Regions from separate parts of the Homo sapiens genome. Here all the other regions are linked to region 2. The links are contacts of gene promoters, found by promoter capture Hi-C in human tissues and cell types (Jung and others, 2019). All regions are on one chromosome and are shown on one strand. The core of a region is centred on a gene start or on the middle of the fragment in contact, and the rest is flanking DNA. Distances in the headings are between cores, read along the strand shown.

Region 1 (3,779 bases), core at 154-2,653, 540 kb after region 2:
CATCCTCCACCTCAGCCTCCCAAGTAACTGAGATTACAGGTGCACACCACCACCTCTGGCTAATTATTAAAATTTTCATAGAGACAGGATCTCACTTGGTTGGCCAGACTGATCTCAAACTCCTGGTCTCAAGTGATCCTCCCACCCCAGCCTCCTGAAGTACTAGGATTGCAGGCATGAACCACTGCCCTGGCCTAGATACATTTAATGTAGTAGAGGAGATGAGATTTTTACATAGTATAATATTGAATGAGACAACAGTCAAAAGAAAATCACATACTATAAGAGAAGAGATTACCCTTACCTTTTAGGAATCAAGAAAACTCCCTGGAGGAGATGGTACTTGAACTTATACTGGAGGATTTATATGTTCATCCTTCTTGGTTTATATTTTGTCCCACACGGTAGCTTGTTTCTTTTTTCTTTTTTTTCTTTTTCTTTTTTTTTTTTTGAGGCAGAGTTTTGCTCTGTTGCCCAGGCTAGAGTGCAGTGGCGCGATCTCGGCTCACTGCAACCTCCACCTCCTGGGTTCAAGCGATTCTCCTGCCTCAGCCTCCCTAGTAGCTTGTTTCTTAGAGACAGTGTGAGTGAAACTCATTAAGTAAAGTCAATACAGCACAAGTTTCATAAAATGGTAAAGAAATAGAAATAAAAGTAAAGGATGAAATTCTTAAGAACTTTGTCAGGCCAGGCGTGGTGGCTCATGCCTGTAATCCCAGCACTTTGGGAGGCCGAGGTGGGTGGATCACCTGAGGTCAGGAGTTTGAGACCAGCCTGGCCAACATGGCAAAACCCTGTCTCTCTAAAAATACAAAAATTAGCTGGGCATGCTGGCGGGTGCCTATAATCCCAGCTACTCGGGAGGCTGAGGCAGGAGAATCGCTTGAACCCAGGAGGCGGAGGTTGCAGTGAGCCGAGATCACATCATTCCACTCCAGCCTGGGTGCCAAGAGCAAAAAACTCCATCTTGAAAAATAAAGAACTTTGTCTCCAGTATCATTCTTGTTCTAGGACTGAGAAACAGTTCATTCTTCATTTTCGTCTACTAAAATTTAAGTTCTTTGATTTTCTTCTTTAGGTCTTGGAAAAAGAATTAATAGAGTAATTTTCTTAGGTATCAAGTAATGAAAATGAGAAAAGAGACTAGTCTCATTATAGATTTTTTTTTTTATTCTTATTTTATTTTATTTGAGACAAGGTCTCGCTCTGTCACCCAGGCTGGAGTGTAGTGGCTCCATTATGGTTCCCTGCAGCCTTGAACTCAGGGGCCCAAGCAATCCTCCCACCTCAGCATCCCGAGCAGCTGGGACTACAGGTGCATGCCACCATGCCTGGCTAATTTTTGTGCTTTTTCGTGTATAAAGATGAGATTTCGCCATGTTGCCCAGGCTGGTCTCAAACTCCTGGGCTCAAGAGATCTGTCCACCTCAGCCTCCTAAAGCGCTGAGATTACAGGCATGAGCCACCACGTCCAGCCTAGAGATATTTATACTTTAATAGCTGCCTGCAATACCAATACACCTAGAATGAATTAGAAGAATTTGAAAACAGATTTCAGGATTAGTAAAAGAAAGTCAAGCCCTATGCCTCCTGTTCTACATTCCTCAAATCACATAATCCTGATTTTTTCCTCTTCGTATGAAAATTCCTCTCATTTTGGGCCTGTTTGATTTTTTGGGAGACACCACCCAGCAGAAACACACCGCACTTACATGCAACCCCTCCATTGCACAGTTTCTAAATGCCCCCCCGCTTTTTTTTCCATTCTCTGATCCTAAAAAAAGAAATCCAGTGGCACAATCACGGATCTCTGCAGCCTTGATCTCTTAGCCTCAAGTGATTCTCCTGCCTCAGCTTCCTGAGTAGCTGGGACCACAGGTGCTTGCCACCATGCCCAGCTATTTTTTTTTCTTTGTTTTTTTGTAAAGATGTGTCTCACTATCTTGCCCAGGCTGATATTGAATTCCTGGGCTCAAGTGATCCTCCTACCTTGGCCTCCCAAAGTGCTGGGATTTTATATATATATATATATATATATATATATATATATATATTTCCATTTTACTTATGTTAATGCTTTCCCTCTTTTGGCATAGAAAAGCTAATAAAGCTTAAACTTAAATGGAACTTGTATAAACACAATATATCTGATGATACCTTTGAGAGATGTCTTACATTTGTCTTTTCTTTCAGCAAAATGTGATGCCAGTCCCTGAAATGTGTAGCAATTTAATTATGGGTAGCATTCTTCTTTCCCTGTACTTACTATAGTATTAACTTACTACTAATGCTAAGAAGTTTATAATTTTTGATAATTCAGATTTGGATTAGATTAAGATTTATGTCTATGCATAATTCATTAAAAACTTTTTAAACCAAATTGTCAAAAAAGATTGTAGGTACCTTGTTTAAAGAAAATATATAAGCTAGTTTCAAGAATTCCAAAATATTTTTTAAAAGCAGCTCTGTACATGTCGATAAATTATTTGCTCATTGTAATTTTTTGAATCTGTTTGTCAAAGCAAATGTAGACGGGCTCGAACTCCTGACCTCAAATGATCCACCCGCCTCAGTCTCCCAAATGCTGGTATTACAGGCATGAGCCACTGCTCATGGCCTGTTATCATTTTTAATTGAAAATTTTACTGAGATAATTGTAGATTCACTTGCCATTATAAGAAATAATTCAGAGATATCACTTGTATACTTAGCCCAGTGTCCCCCAAAGGTAAAATTTTGCAAAATTATAGTCTAATGTAACAGCGTGAATATTGACATTAATACAATCCACTGAGTTTATTCAGATTTCCCCAGTTTTACTTGTATTCAATTGTGTGTTTGTGTATTAAGTTCGATATAACTAGTCAATATACTGAACAGTTCTAACATCACAAGTATCCTTCAGGTAGCCCTTTTGTATCCACATCCACTTCCTTCTCATCCCCAACTATTGACAACCACTAATCCCTTTTCCATTTCTAAAATGTGATTTCAAAAATGTTACATACTTGGCTGGGGGCGGTGGCTCATGCCTGTAATCCCAGCACTTTGGATATACGGTCTCTACTAAAAATACAAAAATTAGCTGGGAGTGGTTGTGCACACCTGTAATCCCAGGTGCTTGGGAAGCTGAGGCAGGAGAATTGCTTGAACCCAGGAGGCAGAGCTTGCAGTGAGCCGAGAGTGTGCCACTTCACTCCAGCCTGGGCAACAGAGTGAGACTCTGTTTCAAAAATAAATAAATAAATAAATAAAATGGTCTTCATACAGCCTTTGCTGCTAGGAAATATAGTTTCTAATTAATGTAATTTTTTGTCAAATACAAAATGCTTCTGAACGTTTCTGGTTATCAAGCTGGTAATCTTTCACAGTGTCCTCAATTTTTTTTTCTACTCTCTTACTAGTTCTCCAGATCACATGCAGGCTATTAAGAAATGTGAACTAACAAGTTAAAGTAGCAGGACGGGCGCTGTGGCTCACACCTATAATCCCAGCACTTTGGGAAGCTGAGGCAGGTGGATCACTTGAGGTCAGGAGTTTGAGAGCAGCCTGGCCAACAAGGTGAAACCACATCTCTACTAAAAAAAAAAAAAATTTGCCAGGTGTGGTGGTGCATACCTGTAATCCTAGCTATTTGGGAGGCTGAGGCATGAGAATCGCTTGAACCCAGGAGGCAGAGGCTGCGGGGAGCCAGGATCATAGCACTGCACTCCAGCCTGGGTGACAGAGCTAGACCCTGTCTGAAAAAAAAAAAAAATGTTAGTAGCAGCAGAGCACAG
Region 2 (3,782 bases), core at 747-3,246:
ACTGCTTGCACCCGGGAAGACTTTTTCTCATGTGACCCTTCTTGATCACACCCTAATCCCTTAGGAGTAACCACTATCTCGACTTAACAGTAATTGTATACGTTCCTTACAGTTTTACCACCCAGGTACATCCTTGAATAATATATTTTGGTTTGCCTCTTTTTGAATTATACTTTATGTGTTCTTTCATCAACACTATTTGTAAGACTTTTCAGGCTGCTGTGTAATTCTAGTTTGGTTTCACGGCTATAATTCAGGGTTTCTCTACCTCCACACTATTGACATTGGGAGTGATACTTTGTTGTGGTGGCTGTCCCATGTATTGCTGGATGTTTAGCGGCATCCCTTGCATCACCCATTAGCAGTCAGTAGTACTTCCCCTTTTGACACCCAAAAAATGTCTCTGGATATTGCCAAATGTCTCCTAAGAGCCAAAAATCACTCCTGGTAGAGAACTACTGCTCTAATTCATTCACTTCCATTCCTCATTCATTAATGGTGTTCCATTCTAATGAATGTATCAGTTACTTTTCCAATCTACTACAAAAATAATGCTGTTATGAACACTTATTTATAAAAGTCTTCAGAAGCATATACACATGCATTTTTCTAGAATGGGAATCACTGGGTCATGTCTGTATTTTATAAGGCTCACCCGCTTTTTCAAAGTAGTTGTACTACAGGAGAATTCATACTGTTATACATGCTACTCAAAAGCCTAAGTATTACCCATAAGATACTAAGACATAAGGAACTACAGAGACTTTCTCCCTCCTTCCCAACCAATGCACAAATTCCATTTCTGTAATTTTCCCCCATCCTCCAGCTCCTCACCTTCTTTTCTACCCTAATTACAACTGTCCTTCAAGTCTTAGATGATGTCCACCTTTTCTCAGGGGAGAACAGCACTATCCCCTATTGCCCTCCCCTTTCCCTAAACTTGAATAGCATTTCTGAACTGAGCTACTCATTTTTTGTTAGTCACATACTCCCCAAAACTGTAAGCTGTTAGGCAGCACCAAAGGTGCCTTTTAATTTCTTCTCTGAAACAAATAATCCAGCTGGACGTGGTGGCTCATGCCAGTAATCCCAGCACTTTCGGAGGCCAAGGCGGGAGGATCACTTGATCCCAGGAATTTGAGACCAGCCTGGGCAACAGCAGCACCCTGTCTCAAAGAGAGGAGAAATAATCCCTTTCTGGCCTAGCAAAGTAATCTAACTACACATATATAAATGTTCAACAAGGATGCCTTGAATGAATGAGAATAGACAAGCTTTGCAAACTCCTGAACCTGAAAGTAACTGAGATTCAGAAGGCGGTAACAGGCAGGAAACCTAAATTCTAGTCCTGGCTCTCATCCATGCAACTAGAATGTGAACTTGGGCAAGTGATTTCCCCTCTCTGGGCATCGGTTTCTTCATCTGCAAAAGTGTTAGAACAGATGACCACAGAGGTCCCCTCCAGCGCTAGAATTCGGTAAGAAAATTGTACTTCATCAAATCGAGCTTGAGGATGAGACCGGAAGTGGGGGTGGGGGAGTCCCTCGGTTGTCGACGGGGGTTGTGGTGGTGGTGGGGTTCCTCTGTTGCTCCTTGGAGCTCAAGAGAACGGCCACTACAACTGAGGTCAGCCGCCAGGGCGGGTACCAGAGGTGCAGACCGCCACAGGCCATCCCTGGTGTGCCTAAATACCGCTACTGGGTCACCGGGACCGGCAGTGCGGCCGAGTCCGCCCCACGTACGGCCTCTCTGGGAAGGCCAGCCTTGGATATGAGACACCTCGGGGGCCGCCCGCGGGCCAAGGGAGCGCCCAGTCGCTCACCCGGTTGGGATATTCCTTCTCCACACAGTCGCCACACATCGCGACGCAGTCAACAGGGAATGTCCTCCAACGCTTCCGGGAAGACGAAACCTCGCGAGAACTGAGATACGGTTGCCGCATGCGCCCAAGTACTCGACTCCTGGGTATTCCGTCTCGGGAACCGAGCCGAAGTCTCCGCCCCTTAGCAACTGTTGTCAAGGCAGGGCACAGTCTCCTTGGCACCGTGCGTGGGCAAAGGGTGGGGCTTCAGAAACCTTTGGAGACAGACGAAGAAATCTTGTGCGCTAACAGATGTGACGGGAAGGGAAAGGGATCTTGGGCTGAGCGAAGTTCTCACAGACACCTTCCTGAGCTTAGGCTGACAAGAAAGGCAAATCACGACACACAAGAAAGGGAATTATTTCTCGCTACCGCATATACAAATCTGAAATGTTAATGAATACATTTCTGTACCATTTCTTAAGGCAATGAGAGTGAATAAGAGACCAGATCTCAGCAGGTGAATAAACAGTAACCGAAGTGTTTGGGAAGAGACACTCAGAGTGCTGCAGAAAATCTCCTAAAAAAACACTTAAAATATTAGTAATAATTGGTCATTCCAGAGTCCTCTGGAGGACATAGCAACGAGGAACGTATTTCTATCTCTCTCAGGTGTCACAGAAGCACCTCAGTGGCGGGCAAGCACTATGTAAATAGAAAAATGGCCAGGTCATCAGCCATCCCATTACTGGGTATATACCCAAAGGATTATAAATCATGCTGCTATAAAGACACATGCACATGTATGTTTATTGTGGCACTATTCAGAATACCAAAGACTTGGAACCAATGCAAATGTCCATCAATGATAGACTGGATTAAGAAAATGTGGCACATATATACCATGGAATACTATGCAGCCATAAAAAAGGATGAGTTCATGTCCTTTGTAGGGACACGGATGAAGCTGGAAACCGTCATTCTGAGCAAACTATCGCAAGGACAGAAAACCAAACACCGCATGTTCTCACTCATAGGTGGGAATTGAACAATGAGAACACTTGGACACAGGGTGGGGAACACCACACACCGGGGCCTGTCGTGGGGTGGGGGGAGGGGGGAGGGATAGCATTAGGAGATATACTTAATGTAAATGACGAGTTAATGTGTGCAGCACACCAACATGGCATATCTATACATAGGTAACAAATCTGCACGTTGTGCACATGTACCCTAGAACTTAAAGTATATTAAAAATAAATAGATTTCAAAAATTATCTAATTGAATTGACTGCAGATATTTTGATTTCAGATTTGCACATCCATTTATAAATGACCTATTGGTTCACAGATTAAAAAACCAATAAACATATGTGCTTCCAAGAAAAGAAAGAAAGAAAGAAAAATGGCCAGGTCAGTTGTTCCTGCATCATTTCCCAATCCTGTGGGTCTCAAAATGCTTGTGCTTGTTGCCCCGCCTCATCCTTTCTCTCTGTATTGAAAGCATCTTATTTATTCGCAACGACCTAATTAACTTGCAGACGAATCTCCGAAGTTTGTCTCTGTTTCTGAACAATGCGTCTTTATCACACTCCTCTACCCCAATGGGAACATCAACATCCTCCCTCAGCCCTGCTTTATTGCTGTCATGTCAGGGAAGAAAGATTGGGGAGCCTGGGAGACTCTGGGATCCAGATTCCTTAAAGAAGAGATTAATAACCATTTCAAAGCACACCAGTTTAAATGGGTTTGCTAATATGGGAATTATTTTTCCACGGAAGCACTGAAGTTGTAACCTTTAGTATTTCAACTTCTAGTAAGTATCTGCAACTGTTATTAAAAATCATAGGTGTGCTAAGAAACACTGCAAGAACTAGAGCCATCAGAGTTTACCTTATTCTTAGAATAATTATAATACCTCCCATTTGTATGACATTTTCAACCTTTCAAAAGTGTCCTCATTTCAGTTTCTAATTTTATG
Region 3 (4,100 bases), core at 1,134-3,633, 940 kb before region 2:
CCCCAATGGCCCATACAGGACTATCTCCAAGCAGCTAGCAGACAGTGGTCACTGGTTGAGCAGACAAGAGCTTGGTCTCAGGGGTCCTAAGTCTAGAGCCTGGAATGAGGGCGAGGAGTCATGTTCCTGATCTCCTTTGCCATCCTATGTAGGGAATGTTGAAGGTCACTTTCATCAGACCCACAGAGATAACCATCCCTTTTATAAAGACTGAGTCCAATGGCCTCCTGGCACACACCCTGGCAGGCAGGTTTGTTTGAAATTTTTGAGAAAATAAATAAGCAAAAGCAAGCAAACCAAAGAAATAAAACCAAAACGACTGACTTCTCCAGCTGACAGGGCATTTCCTATACTTGCCTCCAGGAGCTCTGCGCCTGAGCCCAGCTGCCTCCTCACTGGACGACTATCCATGTCCCAAGCTACCTCTGTCATGAGAAGCCCTGCTTCTCTCTACTCTAAACCACCTTACGGTAAAGGCAAGACAATCAAGCAGTACAATCAGTAGCCAACCCTACTGGTATGATGACCCCAACATCGCTGAGTAAGCCCAAGACACAGAAGGTCAGCCCCTTCAGCATGGTCCCTTTGGCAACTAGAGGAAAGAACACGGATGTCATGGTTTTAAGACTCAAGCAACGTGATGTACGCTAGTGGGTAGAGCACAGGTGAGGGACATTCAGATACGGTCCCACTCCATTCATGACTGAACCTGACTGTGGCGCTGGCTCAGGAATGTTTTGCCTGGCACAGTGGTGGGCATCTGACATTTCAGGATTTGGGGACTAGTTACAGTCAAGGCAGTGACATGGTTTCTGTGACTGTCCTTTGATGAAGAAAGTAGGGTAAGGGTTGCACAAGCGAGGAATCATTTTACTTACAGAAACCACTTGTGCGAATTTAAATAAAGGGATATTTATTCTAAAGGTCTGGATTAAGAGGATCCAAGGAGAAGGTGACCAAGCAGACCCTGGAGCTGGGCCCATTTGGAGACCCCTGCAGCAAGCGTGCCTGGACCATCACTCTAGCGCCTGCGCATTGATCCCAGTCAGCAGCCTGATTACTTCGTCTTCATTTTCCAAGAGAGGAAATCTGATTGGCTTCTGGCCAGTCAGAATTGGTCCCTTTTTGGTCAATGAGATTGGGATAGAGAGGGGACATGATGAAAGGACTCCCCTTGTCTGATTAGAGTAAATGTAAGTCCTCTGGGAAGAGAGTGCAGGGACAGGAGGAGACTGGTGGGCAGTTCTGCCGCAGAAGTCCCCTCCTATTTCACCCCTTAGCGACGGGGCAGGATTCTTCTTTGCATCCCAGCATTATGACTCAGAAGAGTAGACCTGGAGCAGAGAAAACCCTTCCAACCTGGCCATCAAGGCTGATTGAAGGGAAACAAGGTACCTTCAGGTCAGTACATACATCATTTGGGAAAGTTGGGATGCGGGTGGGAGGGAAAGGGCAAGACGATGTGCACATTGCAGATTAATTAAGTGTCTGCATAGAGTGGACTCCCCTGCTTCCCTCAGACCCTGTCTCCTCTGTGCTCCCACCCAGAGGAATGGCTAATTGGCAGAAGGTCAGTGCATTTACCTAGAGTCATTCCAATCCGTCCGAGAGGCAGGAAGGGCAAGGAAGGAGTGGCTGGATGACACACTTTTATGCAATCATCTGGAAATCTAATTTGTGGAACAAGTAGCCATCTGTTCCATGGGTGATGTGCCAAAGTACCTGCCAACAACAGAACAAGCTTTCTGCTGTTCGGGTAACTAATTGCATCTATGGGACCAACACAGCATGAGACTCAACCCGTGGAATATGATCTCCCACTAAATTACCACTTTTGCTTCGGCTTTTCTTGGGGAGCCAGTATGCATACTACAGAGTCTCTGAAACAGCAGCAGAGAAACAGAGAGGCTGGGCAACCCCGCACCCCCCAAAACGGGATAGGACAGCAGGTGTCAAGGGTAGCACGTTCCTGGAGCTGTGCAGGAGACTGCGGCTTTGCTCTAGTTTCTTTTTCCCTTCTGAGAAACACGGAAGTCTGACTCAGTATGAAGCTGGGGAGGGTAGTCAGGGCCTAGAAGTGCTAAGTTGCTATCAGTGATTCCTTTTATGCCTTTTTCTTTTCTAAGATACCTCATTTAGAAACTAGAGGGAGTAGAATGTACTGGAGGTAAGAAATCTGTGTCTTCACCCCTATCACCACTGATGGCATGGTGGCCAACAGTTGCCTTGTTTAAAGTTTCAATGGTAGGTTCATCCAGTTACATAAACTCCTCATAGAAAATGACCTCTCGTTGTTTGGTATCACCCACGACAAGCATTACCCTACAGGAAGCAAGCCAATAGCAGGTGGATTCTCCTTCACTTTCTGCACCCGCTATCCCCAGAGCCCCGTCCATAGGCAAGAGAATCTCAAAGAGCCTAAGCAGACTTTTTCCTAGGTTTTCGTACTGCTTGATTAGTTATCTAGGAATGGATGGCTGGATCCATATCTATTCTGCCTCAAGAAACTTAACCCCAAACTCTTAGTGACAGTACATTTTTTCATCTCTGTTTTTCTTTTTTTAAAGAATATATCAGCAACTTCAAAAATGTACCAAGAATACCAGTTGTCATAGGGGCCTTAGTATCAGCTGCTTTGGCCTTCCAGTGGACTGGGGACAGGTCTCTCATCATATACCTGGCTGTCTGCTGGGCTCTTTCCAGTCTCTCATTAAATCCCTATCATGCTGGATTGGCTCTGAGCATTAGTGAAAAAAACACTTCCTGTTTTCCTGACAAAGCAGAACCTAGCACACTGCCCTTGTGTGATGAATACTTAGCGATTATCTTAGTGCAACCAAGAGGAAAAAAACAAGGGATTTAACCAGCAGGAGGGGAGTATGCTTAGCACTCAAGATGCTAAGCTGCTAATAATCAGTGTGAACCAAAGGTACTTCTGGCTGTCTGGTCCTCCAGGGGTCGGTGAAAGGTGTTGCATCAAAACTGCTGCAGAAGGCAGCTCCCTAACAGGCAGAACAGTTATTAGGCTGGGCCCACTATGAAAAATAAATAAGAAGTATTGGAAAGGATTAAATCAGCCTTATAGAGATGTCTCCATTAGCCACGGGAATAAAGGTTTCAGGTGGAAACCTCAGCATAATCCCACAAAACAAAGTATGATACTTAACAGTCACTTATGAAATGGATTTTATGAGGTTTTTGGTGTTCCATTTTTTTAATTTAAGAAGCGACTATAGAGTACCTTCTTTCTGACTGTATTTTGCTTAGAACTGGGAACACATGAGCCAGATGGTGGAAGGAATGTTGGCCAGGATTCACAATTCAGTGTCACCTCAGAGGTGACATGAGCCCCAAGAGCGTGTTGGTAAATGTCTAACAACTAGCTCTACCATAAAAGCCCTGATTTGTAGTGTTTGCCACTTTTAGTAGTGTAAATGTTCCCGCCACAGCTGGTTTCATGGTATCAACATAATGTTACTGAACACAGTGTTGGAAGAGATGAACACAGATAGTAGTATTTCCAGACAGATTCACCAGGCATAACAAAGAAAACCCAAGAGCATAGACAATAGTAAAATACAGCCAAATCATTAGGAAGTCATGAGTTTTGAGTACCTATTAGCCTTGTTTTAAATGTAATTTATTGAAGTGTGAGGTTTTTTTTGTTTGTTTGTTTGTTTTTGAGACGGAGTCTCGCTCTGTCGCCCAGGCCGGACTGCGGACTGCAGTGGCGCAATCTCGGCTCACTGCAAGCTCCGCTTCCCGGGTTCACGCCATTCTCCTGCCTCAGCCTCCCGAGTAGCTGGGACTACAGGCACCCGCCACCACGCCCGGCTAATTTTTTGTATTTTTAGTAGAGACGGGGTTTCACCTTGTTAGCCAGGATGGTCTCGATCTCCTGACCTCATGATCCACCCGCCTCGGCCTCCCAAAGTGCTGGGATTACAGGCGTGAGCCACCGCGCCCGGCCGAAGTGTGAGTTTATATCATTTAATTTTGAATACTGATTCTGGTTCACAAAATGCCTGAATATTGAACAAACCTTTGCAGGCTTGTATGAGCCAGACCCCACATACCACTGTATCCACCAGAACAGAGGC

What was found. Contacts are between HindIII fragments. The study calls those that stand out against the background at their distance.
Region 1: a fragment that was not itself captured here is called in contact with the fragment with the promoter of CHURC1-FNTB in region 2 in 1 of the 25 tissues and cell types used here (aorta).
Region 3: a fragment that was not itself captured here is called in contact with the fragment with the promoter of CHURC1-FNTB in region 2 in 1 of the 25 tissues and cell types used here (heart right ventricle).

The regions. Positions count from the first base shown.
Region 1 is chr14:64,375,020-64,378,798 of GRCh38, reverse strand. No RefSeq gene overlaps it. Among named protein-coding and RNA genes, the nearest start is that of MTHFD1, 11 kb to the left of the region's middle. The HindIII fragment of the contact is 3,754 bases long and covers 1-3,280 here.
Region 2 is chr14:64,912,575-64,916,356 of GRCh38, reverse strand. CHURC1-FNTB (CHURC1-FNTB readthrough) reads right to left here and starts at 1,996. Exons shown (of 14, transcript NM_001202559.1): 1 at 1,823-1,996. The coding sequence starts at 1,942. CHURC1 (churchill domain containing 1) reads right to left here and starts at 1,902. Exons shown (of 4, transcript NM_001386928.1): 1 at 1,823-1,902. The coding sequence starts at 1,861. RefSeq lists enhancers at 1,633-1,902, 2,053-2,102. The HindIII fragment of the contact is 18,830 bases long and covers 1-3,782 here.
Region 3 is chr14:65,848,510-65,852,609 of GRCh38, reverse strand. No RefSeq gene overlaps it. Among named protein-coding and RNA genes, the nearest start is that of LINC02290, 260 kb to the left of the region's middle. RefSeq lists a silencer at 1,816-1,991. The HindIII fragment of the contact is 4,672 bases long and covers 48-4,100 here.